Linked DNA regions of Homo sapiens: regions 1, 2, 3 and 4 are each linked to region 5. The links are contacts of gene promoters, found by promoter capture Hi-C in blood cells and fetal thymus (Javierre and others, 2016). All regions are on one chromosome and are shown on one strand. Each heading gives the region's core, a stretch centred on a gene start or on the middle of the fragment in contact. The rest is flanking DNA. Distances are from core to core; before and after follow the strand shown. Region 1 overlaps LINC02131 (long intergenic non-protein coding RNA 2131). Region 2 has its middle 14 kb from the start of LINC02131. Region 3 has its middle 32 kb from the start of LINC02131. Region 4 has its middle 57 kb from the start of LINC02131. Region 5 holds the start of ADAMTS18 (ADAM metallopeptidase with thrombospondin type 1 motif 18).

Evidence for each region. The method cuts DNA at HindIII sites, captures the fragments that hold promoters and counts their contacts. A CHiCAGO score of 5 or more calls a contact.
Region 1: a contact is called between a fragment that was not itself captured here and the fragment with the promoter of ADAMTS18 in region 5, in 1 of 17 cell types (endothelial precursors). The highest score is 15.3, in endothelial precursors.
Region 2: a fragment that was not itself captured here is called in contact with the fragment with the promoter of ADAMTS18 in region 5 in 1 of 17 cell types (endothelial precursors); the score reaches 16.3 in endothelial precursors.
Region 3: a contact is called between a fragment that was not itself captured here and the fragment with the promoter of ADAMTS18 in region 5, in 1 of 17 cell types (endothelial precursors). The highest score is 6.2, in endothelial precursors.
Region 4: a fragment that was not itself captured here is called in contact with the fragment with the promoter of ADAMTS18 in region 5 in 1 of 17 cell types (endothelial precursors); the score reaches 8.5 in endothelial precursors.

Annotation. Positions count from the first base shown.
Region 1 is chr16:77,593,699-77,597,540 of GRCh38, reverse strand. All of the region lies in intron 1 of LINC02131 (long intergenic non-protein coding RNA 2131), which reads right to left. Among named protein-coding and RNA genes, the nearest start is that of LINC02131, 4.7 kb to the right of the region's middle. The HindIII fragment of the contact is 492 bases long and covers 1,949-2,440 here.
Region 2 is chr16:77,574,893-77,578,928 of GRCh38, reverse strand. No RefSeq gene overlaps it. Among named protein-coding and RNA genes, the nearest start is that of LINC02131, 14 kb to the left of the region's middle. The HindIII fragment of the contact is 6,778 bases long and covers 1-4,036 here.
Region 3 is chr16:77,620,940-77,624,858 of GRCh38, reverse strand. No RefSeq gene overlaps it. Among named protein-coding and RNA genes, the nearest start is that of LINC02131, 32 kb to the right of the region's middle. The HindIII fragment of the contact is 1,594 bases long and covers 1,388-2,981 here.
Region 4 is chr16:77,646,367-77,650,240 of GRCh38, reverse strand. No RefSeq gene overlaps it. Among named protein-coding and RNA genes, the nearest start is that of LINC02131, 57 kb to the right of the region's middle. The HindIII fragment of the contact is 5,695 bases long and covers 1-3,874 here.
Region 5 is chr16:77,432,550-77,436,423 of GRCh38, reverse strand. ADAMTS18 (ADAM metallopeptidase with thrombospondin type 1 motif 18) reads left to right here and starts at 1,390. Exons shown (of 23, transcript NM_199355.4): 1 at 1,390-1,818; 2 at 1,919-2,006. The coding sequence starts at 1,729. RefSeq lists an enhancer at 1,194-1,694. The HindIII fragment of the contact is 7,514 bases long and covers 1-3,874 here.

The DNA of each region.
Region 1 (3,842 bases), core at 945-3,444, 160 kb before region 5:
CAACTTCTTTGTCTCCTGTCTTTATGTGTGGACATTCCTTAAGTCTTGGTCCCAGGATTGCAATCTTCTTTGCATAACACCTCTCCCTTGGTGAGCTCATCTAATGTTATAGCTTCAGCTGTCCAACAGGGGACTCCCAGTGTCCAATCTCTTTCCTGAGCTTCAGCCAAATATTTTTAACCATCCTCTAAGTCCCTCCATCTAGTAATATATCAATAGATTCAATTCAGCATGTCTTAAACCAGACTCATATATCATCTGGTCTCTGCCATTCCTAAATTAATACTTTTCTTTAACTTCTCTTTTTCTCAGTGGTCATATCATAAGTTCTTCCAACAACTGAGTTTACAATTTTAGGGTGGTTTTTTATGATGCATTGCCTCTTTGACAATATCCATATAACCTCAAAAGTCTGTTAATCATGCTTCTTCAGTATCCCTCTGAAAGAATTTTTATTTCTGCTGATGTCATTGAGTTCATATTTTATTCTCCTGTATTCTCCTCTTATTCCAAATGTGCAAGATGGCTCCCTAAAGTGATCTTCCTGTCCCCACCGTTCTTTCCCCTGATCACATCATGCTCGGACCAATATCTGAAAGCAAGAATCTTTGTAAGTCATTACGTTGTTAAATGACATCTCTATTGGGTGTAGAATAAAGCCCTGAAGATTCAGACTGCAGCCAGTGTCTTTGCCTTCTTTTACCTTACCTCACCTGCCTCCAATAAATGTATTTCCTCTACACAGATTAGTCCTCTAATTATTTCGCAGACACACCAGGAGTCTTTATTTTCCATTCTTCTTTATGATGATTTTATGAGGCTTACTGCATTCCTCAAAGACAAATTTTCATCCACTCCCTTATGGCATTATCCTGACATCCCAGTCATGGAGATTTTACCTTTTCTTTCAAAGCATTTACTTTGACATAACTTATGTAAACTTATGTTTAGTATCTTTGTGCATGTCTTGCCTCCCAGCCACACTGTAACTTTATCAAAATCAGGAAATGAGTCTTTAATATTCTTGTACCACATCAGAAGGCTTGGGAAACAGGAAATGCTTGGGAATTGAGGAATTGAATCTGTAATATTCTTGTGCCACACCAGAATGCTTGGAAATGCATCAAATTTGTAGAGATAAAATGATTCATAATCTCTTTCATAAGAGCAATTACCATGAATTATCCTAAGTATACTTGTTTACTTTTCTTTCTCTGTGGTTTCACCCATATTGGCCAGAATATGCTTCATGAATTAAACAGGAAGTATTGAACATAAAGTTTTATAAACCAATCCAAAAATTTGATAGCAAGGAACTATTGCAACTTGGGGTAAAATCTTTATAGGCTTCCTTTTTATCTATTTCTTAACAGCACACGTTTTGTGTATTGAAAATCCTGTCTCAGTTACATCCATATAATTATATTCATTAATGGATTAATGCAATGTTGATTGACTGTTTCTTTCAGATTCGTCTTAAATGGTAAGCAAAACTCTTAAGAGACTGGGATTCCTAATGGCATAACTAGCTTCTCAAAGTTTCAGTATATATCATTGGATCTCAAAAGTACTCTTTGATTGACATTATGAAAATATTTACAATAAAAAAATGAAAAATAACTATAATAAGAAAAAGTAGGGGAGTAACTAAGTAATGTCTGGCATATCCACATCACATAACACGGTATTTTTAAATCTTAGCTAAAATTTGTTAAATCATACTGAGTTTTTAATGACACAGATGCATGCCAGCTTTTTGCTGTTGTGCAACTTTTCCATCATTACAGATTGTTGCACTTGACAATGCTGATCTTGGAAATTATTTGAAAGAAATCTGAAAACAATTCCTTTTTCTCAAAAGTATGCCACTGTGTCTTCCCCATTTATATGTGACATCAGTAAGCAAAATGGCAAATTGCATTACACCCTTGTTCAGCACTCTCAAGCTTGGATTATATAGTGACACTGCTACTTCTTTCATTGCTCTGCTATTTCTGTAACAGTTATCACTGACAAAGAATGTTATTTACTTCAGAAGTTACTTCCTATCTTTGATAAATATCAATTGTTTTTCTCAAGGATATCAGTTATGGAGATAACCATAGCCAATAAAAACCACTGCTCTGTATGAAATGCTCACTGTATGCTAGAAAATACGTGGCTGGTATCAAGTGCACATGCGGTGTCACAAAAATAACAGTTTCAACTTTTGCATAGAATGAGTAATGGCAATTCTCCTCCCAACACACTGTACTCTACCTAGACTCTTTAGTGGTGTGCAATTCATCAGGACTTTTGAGGCACATGGCAGAAGGCAGCATTTCATTTTGATTGCTGGATGTAGTTTCCAATGAAAATTAAAGATTAATGATGTGAGTATGTAAAAGTCAATAAGAAGAAAAGGCCAGGACTCTAAAACATTTGTAAACAGTGTAAAGCTTTGTACCAATCAAATGGCTGCAGACAGGGAAAGCTAATACCGACGCAATAAAAACCGAGCGCTAACCTTTCATTGTGTCTGGTGCTGAGCTTCTAGCATTTGATGAATGGCTACCTTGTGCCAGTGGGTCATTTGGGAGTGTCTGGGTCTTTCATGTGGTTGAGACAGCTGTGGGCAATCTGTGGATATGGATCACCCTGCTGAGAGACGCAGCTACGTGTGAAGGCAACACTGCACTTAGGAGGAGTCAAAAAATAGATTAATATCAAGTACCAATTTACAACGTGGATGAAATCTTTGTGGGATTTTCAACTCAACAGAAATTGTCTCATTGGCTTTTGATGTCTCCTTGAAATGAGATCATTTTGTCTCCAAGCTGGTATTTACATGTGGGTAATTAGGTTTCCTATTCATCACTTCCATCATCCTCATAAGTTGTATGAGATAGGTGTTGCTTTTGCTGCCTCATCTTCTTACAAAGGCTCAAAGAAGCTCAGTAACTTGTCTAAAGTGGCAGAGCTAATAAATTGCTGAGCTGGGACCTGAACCCAGGTCTGTCTGATTCCATAGCTTGAGCTGTCATGCAATGGAAGGTGAACTGTAGCATTTGGTGAATGTAAAACTTCCTGTTTGCTTATATTAAAGGCTATTGCTATTTTTTTTTTAATTAGGGGAGACTGGGTGGGGGGAAGGGTAGAGTGTGTCTCAATTCCGAAATTCAAAAAGGGCCACATAGGAATCTCTATTCCTCTTGCCCTTTTGGCATAATATCCCCAGTTGTAGCAGGAACCAGTAGAATGGGTTTCCCTTCATTGTTTTTGAGAAGGAAATGCCTGTTGAACTTTGACAACAATGTTAACGATTGCCAGAGACCCTCAATTTATTATTCATCTCTCAGGAATCCTATGGAAATTTCCTTTGAATACTCTTTCCTCATCAATATTAATAATCGCATGATGTCGTGCATGCTTTGTGTTCGTCAAAATGCCATTGTGCATGTGACCTCATTCCATCTTTAATATTTTATTGGAAGCTTTCTACATGTTAAGCACTGTGTTAGATGCAGGAGATATCAAAAGATGTATAGCACAACTTCTTCCTCAAGAGTTGAGTCTGAACTCTAACCTGATGTCATGAAGTAGACCAGATACCTTCCCCATTTTATACACTATTATTTTCCACAGCATAACCTTCTGTCCTCACCTTCTACAAGTTCCTTGTCATATTTTTTACTCTATCAGTGTTATTTTTTTCAGGTTGGTTTGTTTGTTTATTTGTTTTTAAACAGATAGTCTTGCTCTGTTGCCCAGGCTATTGTGCAGGGGTGCAATCATAGCCTACTGCGGCCTCCAACTCCTGGGCTCAAGCAATCCTCCTGAGTAGCTGGGACTACAGGTGCATG
Region 2 (4,036 bases), core at 809-3,308, 140 kb before region 5:
TAATGAAGAGATAGTTTGAATATATCTTCATCAACAGGGTGAATAGAAAGGAAAGGAAAACCGGCCCATGACCCTGAGGGATAAAGGCAGAATCAAGTGATAAACATAGAAATAATAGGTAAGAAAGTGCTTTATAACATTTCTCGACATCTAAATGTTTAAATTTGGATTATTCCTGTTTTTAAGGACATGTTGGTCAGGATAGACTATGTAATGGTACAATAACAAGTGCCACACAATTCAGTGGCTTTACCTAATAAAAACTTGATTTTCTTTTTCCTGATTCTAAACGTCCAGTTGGTTGGCAAGATTATTGGTGATGGGGCAGGGGTCTCTGTCCATTGCAGTCATTTAGAGACCCAGCGTTTGATGAAGGTTTCATATCAGCATAGGTGTCTATGATCTCCGTGGCAGGTAGTAAAGCTGTGCACTGGCTCTTACAGCTTCTCTCTGGAGGGCACATTATCACTTCCCATCACATTTCATTGGCCAAAACAAGTTGCATGCCTATCTTCAAAAAGGTCAGAGTGGGGTGATCCCATCATATGCCTGGAAAGTGGAAAAAGATGAAAAATTTGTGTACAGCTGCAATGTCGTGGAATTCTTTTTCTTTCTTTTTTTTTTGTTTGAGATGGAGTCTTTACTCTGTCACTCAGGCTGGAGTGCAGTGGCACAATCTCAGCTCACTGCAACCTCCACCTCCCAGGTTCAAGCGATTCTCCTGCTTCGGCCTCCAGAGTAGCTGGGATTACCAGTGCATGCCGCCACACCTGGATAATTTTTATATTTTTAGTAGAGATGAAGTTTTACCATGTTGGCCAGGCTGGTCTTGAACTCCTGACCTCAAGTGACCTGCCAGCCTCAGCTTCCCAAAGTGTTGGGATTACAGGCATGAGCCATTGTGCCTGGTCTAATATCTTCTTCTTGTATTTTCCATAGAAATACTGCCTGCCTGCTAGAGAGTCAAAGTGAACATTTCCTTTTGTGAAATCATGCAGTATCATAACTATAAATCCTATTTAAAACTCAATAATCCCATCCCCAGGTGTATATGTATATGTATATGTATATGTATATGTATATGTATATGTATATATATATATCCCAGAGAAATTCTCTCACAGATCTGCTAGAATGAACAACAAGACCCTGTTTGTTTTAGCAAGGAATTGGTGTCTCTTATTTCCCTGGAGACAGAAAACTAGGCTGAGTCAGGAGGATCAGCTGGGCCCAAGAGTTCGAGACCAACCTGAGCAACATAACAAGACTCTACCTCAAAAAACCCTATGTATATGTTTTTTTTGTTCTGACCTCTGGAACTGGAAGATAATATACTTGGATGGTGTAAGTCACTAAATTTGTGGCAGTTTGTTATAGCAGCAATAGGAAATGGGCACCAGTGCAATGCATTATTCTCTATTAACTCATTAGACACACAATGGACACACAGTATGGAATACTGTGATAGGCAGAATAATTCTTTGTCTCTTCCCACCATTATACACACACACACACTCTCCACATTCTAATTCCTGGAGCCTATGGATGTGTTACCTTACATGGAAAAAGGGTGATGATTAGATGGAAGTAAGGCTGCTAATAAGCTGATTTTAAAATAGATTATTCTGGATTATTCTTGTAGGCCCATGTAACCAGGGTCCTTAAATGTGGAAGAAGGAGACAGAAAAATTAGTGTCAGAGTGATGTGGCATGAGAAAGACTTGGCCTGCCATTCCTAGCTTTGAAGATGGAGGAAGGGGCCACAAGCCAAGAAATGTGGGAGGCCTCTAGAAGCAAGAAAGGGCAAAGAAATAGATTTTTCCCTAGAGCCATAGAGTTTACAAAACAGAAGATTTTCTCCTAGGAAGGAATGAAGCTCTGCCAATGTCTTGACTTTAGCCCTTAGTGAGATGCATTTAGTGAAACTTTTGATTTAGTGAGATGCATTTCAGACTTCTGACCTGGAGAGTTGGAAGATGATTCATTTGTATTGTGCAAGCTACTAAGTTTGTGGCAATTTGTTACAGCAGCAACCAGAAATGGATACAAATACTATACAGCATTCTGTATTAATTCGTTAAACACATAAGATACAGCAGGCTGTACAGATTGTATAAAAATTCTAATTAAGAGGCTGGGCATGGTGGCTCACGCCTGTAATCCCAGCACTTTGGGAGACCGAGACAGGTGATACCCTGAGGTCAGGAGTTGAAGACCAGCCTGGCTAACATGGTGAAACCCCATCTCTACTAAGAAATACAAAAATTAGTTGGGCCGGGTGGCGGGCGCCTGTAGTCCCAGCTATTCGGGAGGCTGAGGCAAGGAAAATTGCTTGAGCCCAGGAGGCAGAGGTTGCCATGAGCCAAGATCATGCCACTGCACTCCAGCCTGGGCAATAGAGCGAGACACCATCTCAAATAAATAAATAAATAAATAAATAAATAAATAAATAAATAAAATAAATAGAAAAAAGAAAAGAAACAGGATATGATTTTGAACACAAAACCTTCAATGTAAATTTAACACACATGCGCATACATATACATAAAGCACAAAATTTATAATATTACAAGCATATTTAAGGATACATACTGAAAATTGTATAGTACGGTTTATGGGGTAGAAAATGGGAGCAGAAATTAGAGATAAAAGGAAGCGGTGGGGGGAAGCTAAAGATCTTGCATGGACCAAGAAGGAAAGTAAGTTAAATTGAGTGTGATGTAACATAAACTTATTTTTCTATTTAAGGTGCACATGGTTGAGCTCTAGGGCTTTTTAAGACACTGTGAATCTCAAATTATTTGCATGACTTGAAAGGGCACTTTGAATTAGTGAAAAGTCTTGGGAATACCAAAAAAAAAATTTTTTTTTTCTTTATGAATGTGTACCCCACTGCTAGGCATATATTCATGAGTTTGGGGACAATGTCTTTCTTCCACCATTATGGCTCCAGCACCTGGTGTGGTGCCTGACACCTGGGAGGTGCCCTGAAAATAACTGCACAGTGGTTAAATGAGAGACTGAGTGATCAAATGACACTGGGCTAGCGAGTGAGTGAATGTTCAGATTCAAGACAAAACTAAGAAGTGGAGTTGTTGATTGCCGGATACTTTTGATCAATTTATCGATTTATACAAGCCCTCACCAAGCACCTACACAGTACCTGACATGAAGTTATGTGTTGTTGGGGATTTAAAAAATAAGTGAATGTATACTGTGCTATGTGTACATTCTGTTACCTGTCTTCAAGGGTGGCTTAAAATGCAAGTAGAAAACATCTTTCACACAGGAGATGATGTGGATGAAAGCCTCAGAATAAGAGCAAAAGGAACAATGATAAAGTTAGGGTGACAAAGAACGTTCTAGGGGTTACGTACAGTACTTCACTGTACCAGCTCCTTTAAGTGCTCACTTGGAGTATTTGAATTAATATTCAACTTAAGGAAACCCCTTTCGTGTGGCCTGCCTGACTTTGCCAGAGCAAAGTGACATTGGGAAAACAGAGGGCACTTCAGAGTGACGGGGAGAGGAAGGAAGGGGGTAATGACGGCTTGTGTGGTAGGGGAAAGGCAGGTTGCCTTAGAGGACAACCAGCAGCTGTTCCCTGCCCCTCTCTGGCCCTGGCCTGCAAAACCCTGCAGCTGAGTCAGGGGTAGCTGATACTCAGGCCGCTGGGCCATTTCTGCTTCACCTCTTCACCAGTTGGCCTTTGTCAGGCAGCTCTGATGAGCCTGGCTGCCTGGTACGTTTTCCTCTTGGAAAGAATGGGGGGAAGTTGACCTACTCCGCCGATAAGGAGGGAGATCTGCTTCCTCGGCCACAGCCCTTGGCAGGTCCCCTCCAGGATTTCCCTGGGCCGTCTGAGCACCGTGGGGAGATGAGAGGTCAGGCGTGGGCTGTGTGGAAAACTCTAAAATCTCCACAGCAACCAGGGCCACTGAAGGGAGAAAAAAGTCCTCTGGTGATTAGCCAAGATCTTTACTCTTCATTAGTCATCTGGACTTAGACACTCTTTCCATCTGGGGAAAACTGTGTT
Region 3 (3,919 bases), core at 935-3,434, 190 kb before region 5:
GTATGTCTCTCCTGTACCAGGTACTGCTTTTCAAGTATAGTAGTAAGATTGTCTCAATTCCCCTGACGACCCTGAAGGATAGGTGCTTTTGTGTAATTTTACATTTGGATGAGACAATGCAGCATAGAGGCAAAGAGAGACATAAAGAAGTCAAAGCATTTGGGCTGGTTGCGGTGGCTCATGCCTGTAATCTCAGCACTCTGGGAGGTTGAGGTGGGCAGATCACCTGAGGTCAGGAGCTCGAAACCAGCCTGGCCAACATGGTTGAAACCTCGTCTCTACTAAAAATACAAAAATAAGCCAGGCATGCTGGCCTGTAATCCCAGCTACTTGGAAGGCTGAGGCAGGAGTATCGCTTGAACCCAGGAGGCCGAGGTTGCCGTGAGCCGAGGTCGCGCCATTGCTCTCCAGACTGGGTGACAGTGAGATCCTGACAAAATAATAATACAGATGTCAAAGCATTTGACTAGTCTTTCAACTGGTAAGAAGCAGAGCTGAAATTTTAACCCACACTGTTTTCAGTTTCTTAACCACTTCCCGGCTTTGTACGGCAGCTGCCTGTGATACAGGTAAGAAGAAAGAAGCCCAGAGAAGGCTCTTTGCTTTCTTATCTCTACCACACGTTAATCCTGGATTTAAGACACCTGCTGTCCATCGCCTCACGACTTTAGCATTTTGTCTAATACAGTTTCTCTGCCACTAGGGCTCTTCCCTGTAGTGTCTTCATTTTGGTGATGAAACCATTGACAAAACTGTGAAATATAATGGGAGCTGACCCTACTTACAACTAACTGATCTTCAACAAGGCAGACAAAAATATACACTGGGGGAGGACACCCTATTTGATAAATGGTGCTGGGAAAATTGGTTGGCCACATGCAGAAGAATGAAACGATCTTTATCTCTCACCACATAGAAAAATTAATTCAACGTAGATTAAAGCTTAAATCTAAGAAACCATAAAAATTCTAGAATAAAACCTAGAAAACACTCTTCTGGACATTGGCCTAGGTAAAGAATGTATGGCAAAGCAAATGTAACAGAAGCAAAAATAGAGCTGGGTGCGGTGGCTCATGCCTGTAATCCCAGCACTTTGGGAGGCCGAGGCGGGCAGATCACAAGGTCAGGAATTTGCGACCATCCTGGTCAATATGGTGAAACCCCGTCTCTCCTAAAACTGTAAAAATTAGCCGGGCGTGGTGGCAGGTGCCCTGTAGTCCCAGGTACTTGGGAGGCTGAGGCAGGAGAATCGCTTGAACCTGGGAGGCGTAGGTTGCAGTGAGCCGAGATCACGCCACTGCACTCCAGCCTGGGCGACAGAGCGAGGCTCTGTCTCAGGGGGAAGAAAAAAAAAAGGCAAAAATAAATGAGAGCTAACTAAAAAGCTTCTGCACACGAAAAGAAATAGAGTAAACAGCCAACCTAAAGAATAAGAAAATATTTGCAGACTGTATCTCCAGTAAAGTGCTCATATCCAGAATCTACAGGAAACTCAAATCAGCAAGAAAAAAAAAATCCCATTAAAAAGGGGACAAGTGACATTTACAGACATTTCTCAAAAGAAGATACACAAATGGCCAATAAACATATTAAAAATGTTCAGCATCACTAATCAGGGAAACGCAAATTAAAACCGCAATATGATGCCAACTTTACCCCAGCCAGAATGGCCATTATTAAAAAGTAAAAAAAAAAAACAAAACCAAACAAACAGTAGATGTTGGTGTACATGTGGTAAAAAGGGAATCCTTATATATTGCTGGTGGGAATGTAAATTAATACAACCACCATAGAAAACAGTATAGAGATTTCACAAAGAACTAAAAGGAGATCTACCATTTGATCCAGCGATCATACTACTGGGAGTCTACTCAAAAGAAAATAAGTCATTATATAAAAAAAGACACCTGTGCATGCATGTTTATCACAGGCCAATTCACAATTGCAAAGATGTGGAATCAACCTAAGTGCCCATCAGCCAATGAGTGGATAAAGAAAATGTGGCATATACCATGGAATACTACTCAGCCATAGAAAAAGAATGAAATAATGTCTTGTGCAGCAACTTGGTTGGGAGGTCATTATCCTAAGTGAAGTAACTGAGGAATAGAAAACCAAATACCACATATTCTCACTTACAAGCGGGAGCTAAGCGGCATATAGAGGGGTATAATGAACATTGGAGACTGAGAAAGGGGAAGGTTGGGAGGGAAATAAAGGATGAAAAACCACCTATTGAGTACAATGTGCACTGTTCAGGTGACAGGTACACTAAAAGCCCAGCACCGGTATACAATTCGTCTGTGTAACCAAAAATGCCTTGTACCCCTAAAGGTAGTGAAATAATTAGAAATGAATCAATCATAAAAAATAAAGAGGGATGACTTTGCTTTGAAAGGAAATATACCCAGTGTCTTAAGTCCTGATTTGAGTTTCTGAGTATCTCTTTTGCTGTTATTGCCAACTTATGGGTTTTATTTCTTGGGGGAGTGACAGTATCTCCCTTTACCCCAATCTAGTTTTTTTAAATTTTATTTTTTACATCAACATTAAAATTGACTTTTTTTTGGTGTAAACTTCTGTGAGTTTTAACACATGTGTAGATGCATGTAACCATGACCACAATCAGGATCTGAAACAGTTCTTTGTTCCCCTTAAATTATCTAATGCTGCTGCTTTGTAGTAATATCTCCTCCTCCATCCTTAACCCCTGGAAACCACTGATCTGTCCTCCATTACTGTAGTTTTGCTTTGCTCCAGAATGTTATATAAAAGAATCCTACATTATGCAACCTTTTGGAAACTGTTTTTTTTTTCCAATCAGCATAATGCCTTTGAGATTCACTCAAGTTGTTACACTGTATCAATAGTTTGTTCTTTTTTGTTGCTGAATAGTATTCCACGGTATGAATCTATGGATCTCTTTATCCATTTAAGTATATTTAAGTTGTTTGAGGTTTTTGGCTATCACAGATAAAGCTTCTATAAACATTTGTGTACAGCTTTATTGAGGGAACTTCAAGTTTTCAGTTTGCAAAGATAAATACCTAGAAGTAGGATTGCTGGATCGTATGATAAATGTATGTTTAAATTTTTCAGAAACGACTGTGTTTAAGAACTTTTTGTGTAACCCCATGTAACAAAGTTTTTCTTCTTTTTTTTCTAAAAGTTTTAGAGTTTTATGTTTTGCAAAGGAGATCTCTGATCTATTTTGAGTTAATTTTTGCATAAGATGTGAAGTTTAGGTCAAGGTTTACTTTGTGCATATGGATGTCCGTTTGTTCCAATACTATTTGTTGGAAAAAATTTTTTCTCCAATGTGTTTTTTACCTTTGTCAAAAATCAGTTGGCCATATTTGTGTGGGTCTGTTTCTGGACTTTAGAAACAATTCCATTGTTCTATATGTCCAACTCTTTTCTGATTAGTGTCTGATTTCTGACATTGTCTTGATCATTAAAATTTTATAATGTCTTAAAATCAGAAAGTATGACTCCACCAACTTTATTCTTCACAATAGTTTTGATGGTTCTGTTCCCTTTGTTTTTGTTTATCATATACAATTTAAATTAAGTTTGTGCATAGCTACTAAATCTCTTTTTGATATTCTTGTTAGAAGTGCATTAAATCTACGTATCCATTTTGTGGAGGGGGATAGAACTGACATTTTAACAATACAAAAACTTCCAGTCTATGAATAGGGTACATTTCTCTATATAGGTGTTCTTTGATTATTTCATCAATATTTTGACATTTTCAGTATAGACATTCTGTACACTTACCCTTTTTATAATCATATAATGTTGCCTTTTATTTCTGGTAATTTTTTTCTGAAATCTTTTTCTGATTTTAATAGAGTCTCTTCAGGTATTTTTTGACTAGCATTTGCATGATATTTTTCTCATCCTTTTACCATAACCT
Region 4 (3,874 bases), core at 1,310-3,809, 210 kb before region 5:
CCCAGGGCATGGACATGACCCACCCTGAGGAGCCTACTCAGCACTAGACAGGGACTAAGCTAATTTGGAAACTTCTGACACTCTGAGAATAATTGCAAGTCAGTTTGGCCAAGGGCAAATGACTGCCAATGGTGAAGTCATTTTGCAGAATTTTGCTTACCCAAACACTACAGCTGGAGGAAATAAATGAAATTTAAGCAGTATATTGGACTCCCAGAGAGAAACTTGTAAGGTAGAAAAGGAACCCATTTAAAGAACCTTAGCTCTTCTTAGAAATCCATGGAATTAATGAAATCCAGCTCTCTCTCCCTAGTTGACCTCAGTTTCCTCGTTTCAGTCCAGGCCTGGTACCGAGAATCAGGTTTTTAGAAGTATTATCTGAGCCTGCTTAGAAGTCACTTGATTCTTCTTGCTCACAAGCAAGGAAGCTAAGATCAATGAATCTTGGCTTCATGTCGTTGGAAGCTATATTTTTACTCAGAACTGGGAAGAGTGCTTTAGTATTGTAGCTGCCTGGCAATGGAACAGACTGCCTTGGGAGACAATAATAATAATATCAGGTTAACATTTATTGAGCATATACTATGTGCCAGACACTAGGCTAAGTGTTTCACATGCATTATCTTACCTGGTTCATAGCAGAGATCATTTTACAGAGAAAGAAACCAAGGTTTAGAAGAGTTAAGGCTGGTGCCTAAGGTCACACAATTCTACATTTTTATCCCTGGGGTGGGGTGGTCCTTGGTAAATAGAAACTGGGTGTTTCAAAGAATAAATGAAAGAATTAACTTGATTAAATTCAAGAAATGTTTTTGAAAAGCTATTATGGGTCAAACAGAGTGTTCGGCATTTTTGGATAAACAAAGACCAATATGATCTAGGTTATGGCTGGAAGATCCTTCCAGACTACTAGGAACAATTTAGCATATGCTTTCTAATTTATAAAATTAAGCATTTACAAAGTTCTAGAAAATGCGGTGGGAGTATTTGGTTACATCTTCAGGTAGAAGATAATTAGGAAAGGCTTCCTGCATGAAGGGGAATGTTGAGGGATCATGTGGGAAGGGAATTGAAAACAGGTTGGGGACCACATGGAGTATTCCAAGCTATGGAGCTTTCATTTTATTCACATGGGTATGAGGAATTCACTAGTGCTTTTTCTGGTAGGGGGTGATCTGAAAGCATCAAGAATTACCTGCTAGCTGGAAATGAAGAGACCTACTTAAAAAAAAGAGCTAAGGTGGGCCAGGCACAGTGGCTCACATCTGTGATCCCAGCACTTTGGGAGGCAAAGGCAGGTGGATCACTTGAGGTCAGGAGTTCGAGACCAGCCTGGCCAACATGGTGAAACACTGTCTCTATTAAAAATACAAAAAATTAGCTGGGCGTAGTGGTGCATGCCTGTAATCTCAGCTACTCAGGAGGCTGAGGCAGGAGAATCGCTTGAACCTGGGAGGCAGAGACTGCAGTGAGTCGAGATTGTGCCACTGCACTCCAGCCTGGGTGACAGAGACCTCACAATCCCGGAGGAAGGCAAGGAGGAGCATGTTATGTCTTACATGGATGGTGGCAGGCAAAGAGAGAGAGGTTATGCAGGGAAACTCCCGTTTTTGAAATTGTCAGATCTCATGAGACTTACTCACTGTCATGAGAACAGGACGGGAAAGACCTGCCCCCATGATTCAGTTATCCTATCGGGTCCCTCCCACAACATGTGGGAATTCAAGGTGAGATTTGGGTGGGGATACAGCCAAACCATATCAGCCATGGACAAGACAGATTCAATCCTTGTCTGCATGGAACTTAAATTTCTGTGAAGAGATGATCACATACGTAATTAGTAAATTACAATTGCAGCAAGTGACATAGAGGAAGAATGTTAAGAGTGTCCAGCTCCTAACTGGTACTGGGCCAGGCTTTCATGAGAAAGGAAATTCAAGTTGAGACCTGAATGTAAGTAGGTTAGTCCTGGCATACCTATTTTAAGTGCCATGTTTCCTTGTACTTTTAATAAAAACAGGAAAAGATGTGGACCCTTTAGGGTGCTTGAACCTGTAAGCTGCACGCACCAATGAGATTCTTGGTGCAGGTATAAAATGTCTTGATACAGATCTTCATGATGGAAGGTGTTACCCACATGTATGTTGCTAATATCAGCTCTTGCTTCTGCTGACTTCACCAACTGCCTTGTTAGTTGGCCTTAGGTTGCCTGGGTTATTCTTATATTCTGAAAATGTGCTTCATTTTCTCCAAAGCAATGACTTGGAGGAGACCAGAAATGATGCTGTGGTAAGAGAATGACATAGGAATGTAGAACTGAGGGCTGAGACTCTGGCTGGAGATCACTCGGCCTGCCCACAAATCTAAAAATGCACAGTTTGACTGTAGTGCTGGAAAATATCTCCTAATGTCTTGGCTTCTGTCAACAGAAAAGAGAAAGTTAAAATCATGGATGGCAGCAATTTTATTAATTCAGGAATCTTAGCACTCTAACACTGCTCATTTTGCCCTAATGATTAAAAAAAATCATTTCACAGTGAATTTGTCTTGAACAATGTGCAGCTTATTGGAAAGGGAAGAAAAGAGGGAAGGGGGAGCAGAATTACAGATTGAGGGCACATCGGGGACTCTTGAGAAATACTGTTGTTCTTCTGGGAGACAAAGCTGGAGTGGGCTTAAACGCTTGTCTGTTGATGCCACTCTTGTCATTTTTCATTGCATATTGCTGTGCTGATCTGATTGTTGGATGCCTTTTCTTAGTATGTGGAAGCATCTGCCAAGGTTGATCCAAGGAACTTGGAATTGGGCTGAACCTGTTCATCACTATGATCCAGACATCTCAGCTGCCTTCAGTTTTCTGATTGAAAAGCTCACATTTTTGCCTGTGTGGATAAGTTGACCCCCCAAGGGGGCTTTCAATTAAGTACAAAGCCAATAAAATACCAGCCACTGAGGAGAAAGGGTGACCTCATATTGAAGTCTTCTATATTTTCTTTTATAAAGACATGAAATAGGGCTGGATATGGTGGCTCACACCTGTAATGCCAGCACTTTGGGAGGCTGAGGTGGGAGGATTGCTTGAGCTCAGGAGTTTGAGACCAGCCTGGGCAAAAGAGCAAGACCAGGTCTCTACAACAACAACAACAACAACAAAAAAAAAAAAAAAAAAAAAAAAAAAAAATAGTTGGGTGTGGTAACATTCTCTTGTACTCTCAGCTACTTGGGAGGCTGAGATGGGAGGATCACTTGAGCTCAGGAGGTCAAGTGGGAGGTCACTTGAGCCCAAGGCTGCAGTGACCTGTGGTCATGCCACTGCACTCCAGCCTGGGCCACAGAGTGGCAGAGAAAACAAAAGTAACATAGTAGATCTGCTGAGATCTTCAAGGTATCTCTTTCACTGCAAATTCTTTTCACAGGTGACATTTATCTTTATTCAAAAACATTACCTGAGCATCTAAAATATGCATGGTTATGGGTTGGATGTGGTGAGTAGTACAAAGACACGTAGACCTATTTCTCCCAAGAGCTTCCTGAAGGCAGGAAGTAAAGCAAACACAGATCACTGCATTATGAGGTTAAGGTAGATGTTCTTACAACAGAAAACCTATCTCAATGACCTGTCACTTGCCAGGCTATATATGGGGCTCAAAAGACCTCAGAGTTGTGGTCCGAGAAATGCTATCCAAGCACTCTAGGGTTTGGGGCAGCAAGAATTCCCTTCTGGCTACAGAAATGGAAAGGTTCCTTGGAGGTGGGGCCCTTGAGCTGGGTTTCAAAAAATGGAAAGTGTTTTAATGGACAGAGATGGTGAGTTGGGTAATTTGAAGGTGAGAATATGGCCTGAGCAAAAATAGGGATGAAAAAGATTTGCGTG
Region 5 (3,874 bases), core at 141-2,640:
AAAAAATGGTTCACATTTTTTTATTATTGGATATGATGTTGCCTCCTACACATACACAAACCCACATTCATTTAAATCTAATGGTTTCCAACATGCTTCGCCCCAGCTTACAAGGTCCAGCTGACCCAGCAACTGCTGTGTTTGCTTCTTCCTCTGGCCTGTAACACTTTTCACGTGGCAATCACTTAACTACCTTGAGACCTTCACTTATGCTGTGCCCCCTGTCCTAACATGCAAGATCCTACTCCCCTCTTCCCTTATAAAACCGATCCACTCTCTCTGGCCTTATTTTAAGTGTCAGCTCCTAACAGATGCCTTGCACGTGTATGTATGCGTGTGTGTGTGTATATATATGTGTGTGTGTATATATACACCCACACACACACACACACACACACACACACACACACATCTTATCCCATCTAAATTAGATTCTGCTGCCATCTAATTTAGGAGACTATTCTTTTCCTTTTTAGTATTTGTGTTCATTTTGCTTCTATTACCGTTGTCGAGCTATCCAATCAGATTCGTTTCCACTGGCCCGTGAGACTGTATTTTGTTCACCTCTGCAAACAGGGATCAAAGGATCAAATAAATGTCTTGAGTAAACGAACAGGCACACAGCAAACTGGATGCACATTCCTAGTGATGGCGTGCGCTGTTTGTTATAACTGATTTCTGTGGGTTTGGGTATCTGGGGCCAAGATTCAATCTCGAAGAGTGGGAAGCACGGTCACGTCAAGAAGAGAGAGAGAGATCCGGGAGAAGAGGGAGGCCCCCGCGTGCCATGAGTTTTTACATGCTGCAGACAGTGACAGCTCATTGTTCTGGTCCTCCCGGCTGCCTCAGATTTGCTGACTCTGGGAAGCTAGGTCAGCTTGTGCGCATCTGAGCCTCCTTTTCCTCATCTTTATCAAGGAATTAATAATTCCCACCTGAAAAAGGTAGGGCCTGAGGCAAATGCGATACAGCAGGGGATAGCTCCCAGCACTTAGGAGGTGTTGAGGACGCTATCTTGACTCTTTGCCAGAAGAGTTGAAAATGAGAAGTCTGCACAGGCAGCGAAAAAGTCGCGCCACTCACCTGAGCCTTTCGTCTTCCGAACTCATCTCCCAGTGCGCTTAAATTACGTTTTCCAAGCCTGACCCTGGGCGCTCCCCTCCTTCTCATGGCGGTCGGTCCCTCCCTCCCTATCACTCCCACCCAGCCTCCCCGCCCCCTTCGCCCCCTCCCTCAGAGCTGGAGCCGGGAATCCCACGCCCTTGCACCAGCCCGGGGGCTCGGACGAGCCCGGGAGCCGCTGGTCGCCAATCACCGCGCGGTGGAGAGGCGGGCGCTCGGCTCCGGCGCGCTGGGGGAGCCAGCTGGCGCTGTCTTCCCCATCGCCTCAGACGCTCACACCGACACAGACAGACGCACAGACGGGCGGGCAGACACCGACAGTCTCCCAACCGTTTGCGCTCCAGTCCCGGCCCAGGGAGCCCCCCGTACCCTCTGGGGTGCCGCAAACTGCAGCTCGGCAGGCCCGCGCCGGGAGAAGGGAGGGCGCGCAGGCGGCCGGAGGAGGGGAGGTCCCAGCGCGCCCCCGCTGCGATGTGAACGGCGGCGGCTCTCACCTGGAGCCGCACCTGGGGCGCCGAGCTCCGGGGCCGCGGAAAGAATGCGCGCCGCCCGTGCGCTCCGCCTGCCGCGTCTGGCCACCCGCAGCCGCCGCGTCCGCACCTGACCATGGAGTGCGCCCTCCTGCTCGCGTGTGCCTTCCCGGCTGCGGGTTCGGGCCCGCCGAGGGGCCTGGCGGGACTGGGGCGCGTGGCCAAGGCAGGTGCCGCCGAGCGGAGCTCCGAGAGCGGGTGGCAGGGGGCGCCCGACGCCAGCCCCGCCGCGCCCCTCACGCGCGATGTCACCTTTTCTCTTGCAGGCGCTCCAGCTGTGCTGCCTCTGCTGTGCGTCGGTCGCCGCGGCCTTAGCCAGTGACAGCAGCAGCGGCGCCAGCGGATTAAATGATGGTTCGTATTTGCCCCCCATCCCCAAGAAGGGCCTTTCGCAGCACTTTGACCCTTCCTTCCCCCAAAGAGAGAAAAGATGGAAAAGCGCACCCCCTAACCTGGCAGGTGTGCGCTGTCTTGGAAATGGTTCCTGTTTGGAGAGGGGGGAAGGTTGGCAAGGACTGAACTTATCAAAAGAATCAACGCCCCGAGCTGCAAGTCACATAAAAGCAAATACTCTCCCTCCTTCACAGGTGGCTTGTTAAGAAGAACAAGAAAAAAAAAAAAATCCTAACTGCAGTGAGAAATTCGAAGGGAAGTGGACATTAACTAAGGAATTACTTATTTCCTCCCTCTCCTAACTCTTGTTGGGGGAAGCTAATTCTTAGTGGGAGATGAAAGAATGTGAGCCTCTTTCCTCTCTCCATCTTTCCTCATTTTTCTCTCGACTTCTGTTCCTTTTCTATCTCTTCTTTTTTTTTCATTTCTGCTTCCCTTGTTTTACGGATGTCTAAGGCTGCTTTTAGAGAGAGGAAAGCAGGTGACTTCAGGTCTCTGAGTCCTTTATCTATCTTTTCTGACGTTCGCCAGCCACAAACTTCCAGAAAATCCCTCACTTCTGACATTTATTAACTTCCCAGTGGAGCCCAGAGGGAAATCCTTGTTTTGATTGTTTCCCATCAGCTACAGGAGAACAGCTGATTCCTGACGCAAGGTGTCTAGGAAAACCTTACAGCTCAACCTGGATTCTTTAGAATTCTGTAATTTTTAGTTTTGCAAGGTTATCTCCTTTTCTTGTCAGGGGAATGGGGAGTGGGGCAGGATGGAGTCATGGAGAAGGGATTCACCTTTTGTCCAAACAGAGAGGCTGCAGTTTCTAAAACCACCCCTCATTCTTATATCAGGATCAGATGGCTGGAGGCCACGTCCGACCCAGCCACAACCTTGTAAGGACCTCACCCTTACTCACCTCCTGAAGTGGTCAATCAGAGATCACTCTTTACAGGGGACACTGACTGCCCTTCTTCCATCAAGAACCGAATGTAACCGACAGCCTGTTATTCTCCCCTTGGAAACAAGCTGGTAGCAGGTGTCTGGGGCCGTTTGATGGCTGGTTCCATAGAAGGCTGGCTGGATAACGTTCCTACAGAGCCTTCCAAGTAAGAGCAGGCAGAGTTTCAGATGATTTGGGACAAGAAGGTGAGACACAGACTTCCTGCATATGTCAGGAATCTTTTTCATAGTTAAGTTTTAGTTTGACAGAAGGAGAAGGTAGACTTTCTCTAAGAAATTGCACATAATCAAGAGCCACATCCCTTTAAAGCAATGTATCAGATTTTTAAGAGAAGAAAAATATTGTATGTCTGGCTCAGATTTTCAAGGTTAAGAGAGGGGAAAAACTTTTCCCCCCATTATTGTAAAATATGTATGTCAATTATACAGCATTTTTAGTTAAAGGAGGGAGTCAAGAAGAAAAATGGGAGTGGGAGGACATAAAGAATATAAAAATGAAAGCTGCCCAAGGAATAAGTCACAGATGGTTCATAAACAGAAGAAAATTATTGTCTATTGTGGAGAATTCTTTTTTAATGTGAGCCTAATTAGGCCATCACTCATTGATCTTTGCTAGCTACAGGGGCTCCACTATTCCTTAGTTTTTTTTTTTTTATTGGAGGAGGGGGAAGGTTGTTGACTGTTTAGGGAAAAGAGAAATTTCTCTTCCTTTTCCTCCTCCAGTAACTGGGGACCCAAGTGACTCAAACATACCTCGTCATTATTCAACAGCTTTCTAAACACTTTCCAAAGTAGTTTCCCATTCTGTGCCTTGAAAGTGGAAATGCAGGCTGTTTTTTAATGCACAGAGGGCATATTCCAAATCATTTTGTGGG